Regions from separate parts of the Homo sapiens genome. Here all the other regions are linked to region 3. The links are contacts of gene promoters, found by promoter capture Hi-C in blood cells and fetal thymus (Javierre and others, 2016). All regions are on one chromosome and are shown on one strand. Each heading gives the region's core, a stretch centred on a gene start or on the middle of the fragment in contact. The rest is flanking DNA. Distances are from core to core; before and after follow the strand shown. Region 1 overlaps GYS1 (glycogen synthase 1). Region 2 overlaps GYS1 (glycogen synthase 1). Region 3 holds the start of DBP (D-box binding PAR bZIP transcription factor).

What was found. Contacts are between HindIII fragments. The CHiCAGO score rates a contact against its expected background, and 5 or more counts as called.
Region 1: a fragment that was not itself captured here is called in contact with the fragment with the promoter of DBP in region 3 in 1 of 17 cell types (endothelial precursors); the score reaches 5.4 in endothelial precursors.
Region 2: a contact is called between a fragment that was not itself captured here and the fragment with the promoter of DBP in region 3, in 5 of 17 cell types (M0 macrophages, endothelial precursors, naive CD4 T cells and 2 more). The highest score is 7.4, in M0 macrophages.

Annotation. Positions count from the first base shown.
Region 1 is chr19:48,986,397-48,990,167 of GRCh38, forward strand. GYS1 (glycogen synthase 1) reads right to left here. Exons shown (of 16, transcript NM_002103.5): 3 at 798-989. Among named protein-coding and RNA genes, the nearest start is that of GYS1, 5.0 kb to the right of the region's middle. RefSeq lists a silencer at 2,056-2,238 and an enhancer at 3,369-3,760. The HindIII fragment of the contact is 1,888 bases long and covers 410-2,297 here.
Region 2 is chr19:48,968,610-48,972,203 of GRCh38, forward strand. GYS1 (glycogen synthase 1) reads right to left here. Exons shown (of 16, transcript NM_002103.5): 13 at 2,319-2,414; 14 at 1,937-2,100; 15 at 1,166-1,246; 16 at 1-1,002. The coding sequence ends at 679. Among named protein-coding and RNA genes, the nearest start is that of FTL, 5.1 kb to the left of the region's middle. RefSeq lists an enhancer at 1,715-2,242 and a cis regulatory region at 2,219-2,739. The HindIII fragment of the contact is 5,397 bases long and covers 1-3,594 here.
Region 3 is chr19:48,635,564-48,639,108 of GRCh38, forward strand. DBP (D-box binding PAR bZIP transcription factor) reads right to left here and starts at 1,816. Exons shown (of 4, transcript NM_001352.5): 1 at 1,293-1,816; 2 at 17-427. The coding sequence starts at 1,431. It overlaps CA11 (carbonic anhydrase 11), which reads right to left. Exons shown (of 9, transcript NM_001217.5): 8 at 3,325-3,490; 9 at 2,383-2,581. The coding sequence ends at 2,556. It also overlaps the pseudogene SEC1P. RefSeq lists silencers at 1-187, 308-367, 1,404-1,523, 1,754-1,863, 2,034-2,253 and an enhancer at 2,864-3,033. The HindIII fragment of the contact is 6,625 bases long and covers 1-3,545 here.

The DNA of each region.
Region 1 (3,771 bases), core at 104-2,603, 350 kb after region 3:
CCCAACATTGGCAAAGGGACTACAACTCCCAGAATGCCATAGGAGCAGCCAGTTCCTCAATTATTTGTCCCAGGGCATGAGAAATTAAGCTTCTTTTTTTTTTTTTCTTTTTCTTTTTTTTTTTGAGACAGTGTCTCACTCTGTGGCCCAGGCTGGAGTGCCGTGATGCAATCTCAGCTCACTGCAATTCCCGCCTCCCAGGTTCAAGCAATTCTCCTGTCTCAGCCTCCCAAGTAGCTGGGATTTGGGATTACAGGTGCCCACCACCACACCCAGCTAATTTTTTTGTATGTTTAGTAAAGACGAGGTTTGGCCATCTTGAACTCCTGGCCTCACGTGATCTTCCCCCATCGGCCTCCCAAAGTGCTGGGATTACAGGCATGAGCCACCGTGCCCAGCCTGGAAACTAAGCTTCTTGAGCCTCTTAAAACCTAGAAGGGGGTCAAAACCAGGTCAGGCTGGGGATTCATGAGCATCCAGGGCAGCATCTGAGAGCTGAGTCCAGCAATATCACACTAGAGAACTACAACTCCTAGAATTCCTCGGGCAAGCCCGCCAGCCTCACTTTGAGGCTGATTCCAAGAATCCCTATGCTTGGAAGACTAGAGTAAATGAAGTTGGCATCGAGAGTAGAGCCTGGGCCCTTGGATGTTCATGTCCTCAAAGGCCAGAGCTAATCCTTGGATTAAAGGACCCTATGACTCCCAGAATGCCCAGGGAGAAGCCCATCCTCTGGCCCAGGGGCTGATGGTCATTGTAGTTTCAGGTATGGGTGGAATGTGTCAGACGGGGCCTACCTCACCCAGGAACCAGGTGGTCAGAAAGCCAAAGAGGACAGCGTCGTTGGCCTCGCGGTCGTACCACGGCACTCCGATGTTGCAGGTATCCCAGAGCTCTCCCTTCCAGCGCTCCAGGGCCCAAGCTGAGGCACCCACGTCCAGGAGCACCACCAGAGGGCCTCCCTCGATCAGCCAGCGCCCGAAATACACCTGGGATGGGGTTGGGGAGGCACCATAGGGAGGCTCTGGGCTTCAGCCTCATATCTTCACTCATCCGTGGTTCTCCCATTTGCAGGCAGATGTCTATAGACTTAAGCCTCAGCTCTCTTATCTTCTGTTTCCATATCTGCTGCTAATTTCTCACCTGCTGCCTTAGCCTTACTTCTCTATTTGCATGATTTATTCCTGCTACACATTTTTTCCATCTCTGTTGCAATATTTTCCGTGCCCCCTGCTTACTTTCTTTCTTTCTTTTTTTTGAGATGGAGTCTCACTCTGTGGCCCAGGCTGGAGTGCAGTGGTGCGATCTCAGCTCACTGCAACCTCTGTCTCCCGGGTTCAAGCAATTCTCCTGCCTCAGCCTCCCAAGTAGCTGGGATTACAGGCACCCGCTCCCACACCTGGCTAATTTTTTTTTTTTCTTGAGACGGAGTCTGGCTCTGTTGCCCAGGCTGGAGTGCCGTGGCATGATCTCGGCTCACTGCAACCTCTGCCTCCTGGGTTCACACCATTCTCCTGCCTCAGCCTCCCGAGTAGCTGGGACTACAGCGGCCCGCCACCACGCCCGGCTACTTTTTTTTGTATTTTCAGTAGAGACGAGGTTTCACTGTGTTAGCCAGGATGATCTCCATTTCCCGACCTTGTGATCCGCCCGCCTCGGCGTCCCAAAGTGCTGGGATTACAGGCGTGAGCCACCGCACCCAGCCTCCTGTTTAATTCCTGTAACTGCTACCCTTCTCCCACTCGCTGCCTCCTTTCTCTGCTTATAACCACATATGTCACATGTCCTGTGTCTATGCCCCCACTGCCCTGTCTGGCCACTCTGCAAATCATTTCCCCTACCTGCTGCCTTGTTTCTGTACTTGCTGCCACATTTCTCTTACCAACCATCTGCATCTCCCACTGTCTTTTCTTTCTGATGCTAATTCCTTCCACGGGATGCTTCTTTTTTGTTTTCAGACAGGGTCTCGCTCTGTTGCCCAGGCTGGAGTGCAGTGGTGTGAACATGGTTCACTATAGCCTCAACCTCCCTGGCTCAGTCAATCCTCCCACCTCACCTCCTACAGGCGTGGGCCACCATGCCAGGCTGATTTTTTAATTTTTTGTGGAGATGGGGTCTCACTATGTTGCCCAGGCTGATCGTGAACTCCTGCGTTCAAGCAGTTTTCTTGCTTAGCCTCCCAAAGTGTTGAGATTAGAAGTGTGAGCCACCTAAAGCAGGCCCTTTTTTATTTTCAGAGACGGGGTCTTGCTCTGTCCTCCAGCCTGGAAGGGAGTGGTGCAATTACGGTTCACTGAAGCTTCGATCTCCCAGGCTCAAGCAATCCTTCCACCGCAGCTTCCCACGTAGCTGGGACCACAGGCACAAGGTATCACATCCCGGCTAATTTTTAACTTTTTTGTAAGGACAGGGTTTCACCATGTTGCCCAGGCTGGTCTCAAACTCCTGGCCTCAGCCTACCAAAGTGCTGGGATTACAGGCGTGAGCTACTGCACCCAGCCTGTAATGATTCTCTTACTGTTCATGCTGCCACTTTTCTTCCCCATGATGCCTTGTTTCTGTTCCTTTCATCACATATCTGTCACCTGCGACCTCTTTCCTCTATCCATAGGCCCATTTTGTAGTCCACAGCCTCCTTCCTTCCTTCCTTGCTTCCTTCCTTCCTTCCTTCCCTCTCTCCCTCCTTCCCTCCCTCTCTCCTTTTTCTTTCTTTCTTCCATTTTTTTTTGTTTGTTTTTGTTTTTGACAGGGTCTCACTCCGGTCACCCAGGCTGGAGTGCAGTGGTGCAATCATGGCTCACTGGGCTGGGCGCGGTGGCTCACGCCTGTAATCCTAGCTCTTTGGGGGGCCGAGGCGGGCGGATTGCCTGAGCTCAGGAGTTTGAGACCAGCCTGGGCAACATGGTGAAACCCTGTCTCTACTAAAATACAAAAAATTAGCCGGGCGTGGCAGCATGTGCCTGAGGTCCCAGCTACTTGGGAGGCCGAGGCAGGAGAATTGCTTGAACGCGGGAGGCGGAGGTTGCAGTGAGTCGAGATTGTACCACTGCACTCCAGACTCAGCGACAGAGTGAGATTCTATCTGAAAAAAAAAAAAAAAAAATTATGGCTCACTACAGCCTCCACATCCCATCCTCCCACCTCAGCCTCCTGAGTAACTGGGATCACGAGCACGCACCATCATGCCTGGCTAATTTTTTGTATTTTTAGTAGAGACAGAGTTTCGCCATGTTGCCCAGGTGGGTCAGGAACTCCTGGGCTCAAGCTATCCTCTCACCTCGGCCTCCCAAAGTGCTGGGATTCCAGGCATGAGCCACCGCCCTCGGCCACGCCACACATTTCTAACATAGCCCATCCTCTGTCCGTGCCCCAGGGCTGCATTTTTCTAGCCACTGCCGTGTTTCTAAGACTTGCTGTCTCACTTCTGCCTCTGCCACATTTCTCCAGTTGGCTGTTTTCCTCCCTGAGACCATGGCTTTGGTTCTGGGCCTGCTGCCACAGCAGTGGAGAAGCAGCCCCGCTCCTCGCCGACCTGGCTTTTTGCTGCCTGGAGCCTCGCTCTGAGGTCCCTCCCCCTCCCAGCTGTTGTCTGCCCTTTTGCTGGGGGGGGGGGGGGGCTATTCTTAGGCCCCCAGCACGTGGGAAGCAGCTGCCCTCAGGAAGCGACTGGGCTGTTCTGGGTTCCCTTAGGGACACAGTCGGACCTGAATGGATTCCAGACCCCACCCCAAACCAGAGGCTGTGAATGAGTAAAGGAACCACAGTGCCTCT
Region 2 (3,594 bases), core at 661-3,160, 330 kb after region 3:
AAGGAATGAGCAGCCAAGTGGTTCTACCACCTCTTGCTTGGCCAAAGTGTAGGGGATGACAGGAGCCGGATGGAGGGATCCTCCAGGCAGAGCCTGGCTCTGACATGCCAGGGAGGGCTAGAACATCCCTCCCAGAGCCCCACTTCTGGAGTTGAAATGGAGGACCATCTGCTCTCAGTTACCTTCAAACTCTGAAAGTGCCCCGGCTCTGGACTTGATCGCCCCATTCGCAGGGACACCACGTGGTTTCCAGAACTTGGTGGCCCGCATGCCGGGCCTGAGCGTGGCCTGCTCTGTATGCTGTAGAATTTGTAAGCCACACGGGGGGCTCTAAAAGCCCCAGACCTGAAAGCACCATGCCAGGTTTCCTAAAACCTCTGGCACCACCGCAGAGTAATGGCAGATTCCTGGCCTCTGGGAAGCGGTCCAGGCCCAGGGGACTCCAGGGCGCTGATTATGCATATTCTGGAGCCAGAGAAAGGCACGGCTTTGTGGATTCTGGAGTGCAGGAACTTGGAAACTGGAGCTGGAGGGGGTGGAGTGTTTGGCGGACTGGGTGGGGGCACTGCGGGGCCACACCCAGTGCAGATCTGGAGCGGGGGTTTAGGAGCAGCACCCCTCTGCATCCTCTCTCTGGAGCAGAGAGGCAGGACAGGCGGGGAGTGTGGTGGGGCGGACTTAGTTACGCTCCTCGCCCAGGGAGCTGGTGGGGCTGAGGGGCTCGCTCGGGGTGCTGAGTGAGCTGGAGGTGGCCGTGTCCACAGAGTTGCGCTTGCTGCCGCTGGTGGAGGAGGTGCAGGACGCTCGGCGCGGCCACTCTGGTGCACGGATGTTGCGCCGGTCCTTGGCGGCCTCCTCGTCCTCATCGTAGCGCTCGCCGTCTTCCTCCAGCGGCCCGTTCCGGGGATCCTCCTCGTCCTCACTCTGGTGCGGGCTGGAGTGTCGTGACAGCGAGGGCGACGGTGGCACCGAGGCTGGCCGTGGGTAGCGGTACCCCTGGGCCTGCATACGGCGATGTGGGTGCAAACCAGGGTGAGCTGAGGACCTCACAGTCCCACCCAGGCATCCAGCCACCTCTAGGCCTTCCCACTCCAGGAGGGACCCCCACCCCACCGAAGCCCAGCCCTTTAGCTCCTGGCTAAGCAGAAATCCAGGGTCCACTCACCGCATCCGCCTCGTTGGGCTCGTAGGTGAAGTGCTCTGGAAAGGCCTTGGACAGCGCCATGTGGCGCGCAGACATATAGTACTAGGGGAAAGGAGGAGAGGGGGCAGAGGATGTGAGAGCCAGGCCCCACCCCCAGGCAGATGATGGGGGTCTTGGCCACACCCTTTATGCAGATGAGCACACTGCTGCACCCCATACAAATAATCCATCTATCTGACTCCACCCCTTATGTAGATAAGCAGACCTGTGAATGGACAGTTTCTGAGCCATACCCCTCAAACAGGGGCCGAATTCTCAAGTGAGTCTCCTCTTTGGCCACACCCTTATGCAAATGAGAACGCCTGACCAATGTTCTTTTTTTCTTTTTAAACACGGTCTTGTTCTGTTACTCTAGGATGGAGTGCAGTGGGTTTGAACAAGGCTCACTGCAGCCTCAACCTCCGGGGCTCAAGCGACCCTACCACCTCAGCCTCCCCAGTAGCTGGGACTACAGGCACGCACCATCACGCTCGGCTGATTTTTTTTTATTTTTAGTAAAAATAAAATGTTGCCCAGGCTGGTCTCTTAACTCCTGAGCTCATGCGATCCTTCCTGTTAGGCCTCCCAAAGTGCTGGGATTACAACCATGAGCCACCATCGCGATCGGCCTGGTTCATTGCTTAAAGGGACAGCAACTGTTACAAGTAGGATGAGACCCTGCACCCTGCACCAAAGACCCCTAGCCAGGAGCTGCTGATTTGCCAGGAGAGGATAGGAAAGTGGGGGTCCTACCCGGCCTAGGTATTTCCAGTCCAGAAGGTCGGAGAGGCGCTCCGTGCGGTTCCGCTGGATGATACGCTGCCGCCGGCTCTGCTGACAGAAACTGTAGAGGAAGGAGGTGAGCTGCGAGCAGGAATCATCCAGGCTGCGGAACCGCCGGTCAAGAATGTAGATACCTGTGGAGGCCAGGACCCAGGTTCAGAAAACATCCTGGGGAGATCTTCATGGTCTCCAGGACTCTGTGGCACCAGGACCCCTCCTCTCCCAGCGGCCCGAGAGCCCCCCCATTTCCTGGTGCCCCTGGTCTCCAAGGGTGCAAGCTCCTCCTTCCCAGGATCCAGGAGTCACTGTTCTCAAGCCCCCTTCCAGAATCCTCAGGGGCCTGGGCGCTGACCGTAAGCTGAGGGGTCTGCGATGTGTTCCTCCATGAAGCAGCCGAAGCCGGAGAGATTGGTGGAGATACTGGGGATTCCCATAACCGTGCACTCAGCTGCGGGAAGGCAGGAGAGAGACCCACTTAGCTTCCCTCATCGCCTACCGTCTTAATCGCAATAGACGCCTCAACACCGCCCTCTACTGGCGCCTGTACCAAGTGCCAGGCGCTGTGCGGAGCGTCGCTGAGCCCCCACAACCAGGCTGTGCATTTCCCTATTTCTCAGAGGGGACGCTAAGAGGCTCAGAAAAGAGAATTACTTGCTCTTGCTCCAAGATGCGGGAAAGTCCATAGTTGGGAGATAAGGATGCTAATTTATTGAGCATCCCAATATCCATTTGACTTAACTCTCACAACCTGTAGGATCGGGCCAAGGTCCATCATTCTACTTAATTGTCACAACCTGTAAGATCCTTTCTTGTGCCAGTATCTTGTACGGACTTAGTCTATTTTGATGGGGGGTAAGATAAGGTCTCTCATTATTAGTATCCCTGTGTACAGAGCATCTAGTACGTCTTGTTTAATACCTTTAACAACCTTGAGAAATAGTTCAAGGAATGTATTATAATTTTTTGATGGATTTTTATGCTTTTTTTTTTTTCTTTCGAGACAGGGTCTCACTCTGTCACCCAAGCTGTAGTGCAGTGGCACAATCTCGGCTCACTGCAACCTTCACCTCCCGGGTTCAAGCGATTTTCGTGCCTTAGCCACCCGAGTAGCTGGGACTACAGGCACACACCACCATGCCCAGTTAATTATTGTATTTTTTAGTATAGACAGGGTTTCACCATGTTGGCCAGGCAGGTCTTGAACTCCTGACCTCAGGTGATCCATCCGTCTTGGCTTCCCAAAGTGGTCAAATTATAGGTGTGAGCCACTGCGCCTGGCCCAATGCTTTTTTTTTTTTTTTCTCGAGACAAGGTCTCACTTTATCACCCAACCTGGAGGACAGTGGCTTGATCATAGCTCACTGCAGCCTTGACCTCCTAGGCTCAAGCAATCCTCCCACCTCAGCCACCCAAGAGGCTGGGACTACGAGCACACAACACTACGCATGGCTAATTAAAAATAAAAAAAAAAAAGGCCGGGCACGGTGGCTCATGTCTGTAATCCCAGCACTTTGGGAGGCCAAGGCGGGTGGATCACGAGGTCAAGAAGAGAAAAAAAAAAAAACCATCCTGGCCAACATGGTGAAACCCTGTGTCTAATAAAAATACAAAAATTAGCTGGGTGTGGT
Region 3 (3,545 bases), core at 566-3,065:
GCCCCCTTCGCCGCACCTGCGCGGTGGCCGCTGGCGGTCCCGAGGGCAGCCCGGGCGGGGGCGTGCCCAGGAGAGGAGCGGGGGGAAGCCGAGCCGCACGAACCCGGCCCTGGGGAGGGTGCGGGCGTCCGCGCGGGCGACGGCTCCGGCGACGGGCCACCGGGGGGCGGCGGGCTGGGCGGGAGCCCGTGCTCCAGCAGGAAGGCGTCCAGGTCTACGTACTCCACATCGCCGAACGGCAGCGTGCGCTCCCACAGCAGTGGCGCCAACAGACCCGGGGCGGGCACCGGCCCCGGGCGCCCCCGCGGGGACCCTCCGCCCACCACTGCCCCAGCCGGGGCATCCGCCGGGCCCGCAGTCTCCAGGCCTGGCCCAGGGGTTGTGGCTGCAGGCAGGGCCGCCTTGCGCTCCTTTTCCTTCAGGAGACCTGCGGGCCGGGAAAGACGGGTTGGGATGAGGGTGAGGTGGGGGAGATAGAGATGGAGAAGAGACCCCGAGTCCGAGAGGCACAGGGCGGAGATCCAGAGAAAGAGGGGACGGGGGGTCGGAGAGGAGAGACGGGAGAAAAAGGGACGGAGACGCAGAGTGGGAGAGAGACCCAGAAAGAATGGAGACGGGGGTGGCAGAGACAGGTGGACAGATTCACAGAGATGGGGACAGAATGCCGGGAAGGAATAGACACACAGAAAGACAGCGAACCAGAGAAAGAGAGACGGAAGTTCAGGAATAGGGGGGCAGGGACAGGGTAGGTGGAGGGTTGGGCAGGTGAGAGAAAAAATGACAGCTCTGTAATTTCACTGTAATTACCCAACCCCCATCCCCTGCGCGCTGTACCCCCTTCCCCTCCCCCACCATCTGTAAGGGGCAGGAAGGGGCTCTATTCCTGGGGCACATCCCTCATCCCTAGACTCCATGTGACCCCATGACGCCCCGCCCAAGCCCGTGTCACCACCGTGTGAGCACCCGACACACCCCCTCCCTGGGACCCCAGGGGTCCAGACTCCCGGACCAAAAGGAAGAGGAGGCTGGGGCCTACACTCTTGTGAACTAAGCGGGGAGGACGTTGGGGACGTTGGTGCCTGGGTCCTTAGGGTGGACGGGCTTCAGAGCCGGCGCTTTTGGGTCCTGGGCGCTAAGGGATCTAGGGGCCTAAACACCTGAGTAATTGAGTAGATTAAGGTTGGGAAGATGGACTCCCCGCACGCAGGTTTCTATGGGACCCCACCCCACGGCACCTGAGTCCCTAAGGGGGTAGGGTGTCCGAAGTGGGTGAGATGGGGGTTAGAACTCACAGCTGGCCGGCTCTTTGGGCTTGCTGGTCCCCTGCAGAAGGCTCCGCAACCCAAGCAGCGCTCCCCCGCCAGGGGGTGTCCCGGCCGGGCCGCCCAGCAGCAGAGGGGCCGGGGTCCTGTCGCTCACAGGCCGCGCCATCGCCTGGCACCTGCCCCCAGGCTCACGGGTTCATGGAGAGGCGAAGGGCTGGCCTGCCAGTCACCAGCACACTCCAGTGGTTTGGACGAGTGTCTGCCCAGGGGCGGGCGAGTGTAGCCTGCAACCCTCCAGTATCCAGAACGCTGCAAATCCTAGGAGCGACGGGGATTTGAGGTCCTCGGTGCAGAAACGTGCAACTCAAGAGGGTCCCGGGAGATCATGCAATCTGGGCGAGGGGGTGTCCAGATCAAGCGGTCGGCTCTTTGCAACCGAGGGTGAGAGGGGACTCAAGGCGCTCCTTCTACAAGGTGGGCGAGCCTGGCTCTTGCAAAATCTGCAGCTCTCGCAACGGAAGGCGCTTTGCAATCTGCACCGAGAGGTGTGCGCGGAGGGGCGGAGGAGGGGGCAGGAGGAGGCGGCCGCCTTGAGGCGTGGCCAAAGCAAACTTCTTTCGCGGAAAAAAAAATCCAAACCAAAACACCCGACGCCACAGCGCGCGCCCCTCCTCCGGGTCCCCGCCCGGCGCGTCCAGCCCCGCCAGCCTCTATGGGCATGCAACCCAGCCGCGTGCCTCCCTCCGGCTGCAAACACGGACCAATCGTCTCCGACACCTTGAGACGCACAGCCAATGGGGCCTCTGGGTCCGCCAGGGCCCAGGAGGGCGCGTGAGGGGCTCAGCGCGTGAAGTTGCCTTGCCTTTCGGTGGGAGGCGGGACACTGACCTACATTTGCCCAATGGGAGGCGGTACTGGGGGGCGGGACCGTGACCCAGTTTGGGCCAATGAGGCAGGCGGGAGGGGGAAGCACATGGCTCTGCTCGTGCTGCCTGATGGCGAGGGGGGTGATGGGGGGAAAAGGGGCGCCGCTTAAAGGGGCCGCGGTCCTAAAGATGGTTTTGAGAAGCAGGAAGCCAAAATACCGAGAGCGGAGGTTTAGAAAGAGGAAGATTGGTTTCCGGAAGAAGTCTGTTCTTTAATACCCAAATGTTTCCCCACCGCGCCTAGAATCAGACCACTGAGAAAACAGGAAGTATTCTGTCCCTTTAATAGCTTTGTTTTAGGGGTAACTCCCCTCGCCTTGTGGGGAGGCTTAGGACGGGCGGGTGCAATCCTCGAAGGGGAGTCTCAGCGACCATGGGGGACACCATCCACTGTAAGACAGAGAACAACGGCAGGGGGCGTCAGTATAGGATGGAAGGGGCGGGGGGTGTGCAGGGGGCGTGGGCTGCGCCGCGCTGGGCCCTACCGTCGGAAGTCTGCGAGCGGGGAACCAGAATGTACTAGGTCGAGAAGCACTGGGCTGAACCACAAGAAGCCAATAGGAGGGGGGAATCGGGACGTCCAGATTCAGCAGTAGGCTGAACTACTTGAAGGTCTTCATGGGGGGGGGGGGGTGTGGACTGTACCATGTTGCGAAGCCGGGGGTGTGTGAGATTCCTGGGCTAAACCACAGGGAGGCAGAGGTGGAGGGAAGGGGTTGTACCTTGTAGATTCTCAGTAAGGGGGAAGGGAGCATCAGATTGTGGAACAGCGTAAGGTAGTACGACTTGGAAAGGGAGAGAGGATCCAAATTGTACCATTTTGGAAATTCACAGTAATAGGAAGCACAGAACAGTAGGTAATTGGACCATAGGAAGGCAGGGGTCAAGGGTTATAGACCAAGTTACAAAGCAGTGAAGAGGAAAGACAAATCGTGGGCTAGCAATGGCCTAGGGCTGGCAGGTGGACTGTACCACATAGACATGTAGGGAAAGAGAGAAAAAGAGACAGCTCACGAGGCTAGACCATATAGACGCAGGAAGGAGGATGGGACTGAATCACACTGAGACACCAAGGGGAGACACATATAAGAGGGTTAGCCCAAGACTTAGAGGGGGTGCAGACTGGACCATACCATGCAGGCGGTAGTTGGGGCCTCGGCAGCGCCTCTCGGGGTGCCGGGGGTCCCTGTTGCCCCTCAGTGCCCTGTGGGCCAAGGGCTGCAGGGGCCGGCTGTTACCGCTGAGGCTCTGGAAGATCTGAGATGGAGGATTCTGGCTCAGGAGTCTCAGGGAGTGCATCTGCAGTGGAAGGAGGGTGGGAAACTGGGAGTGAATAGTGAATGGTCTTGGTGAC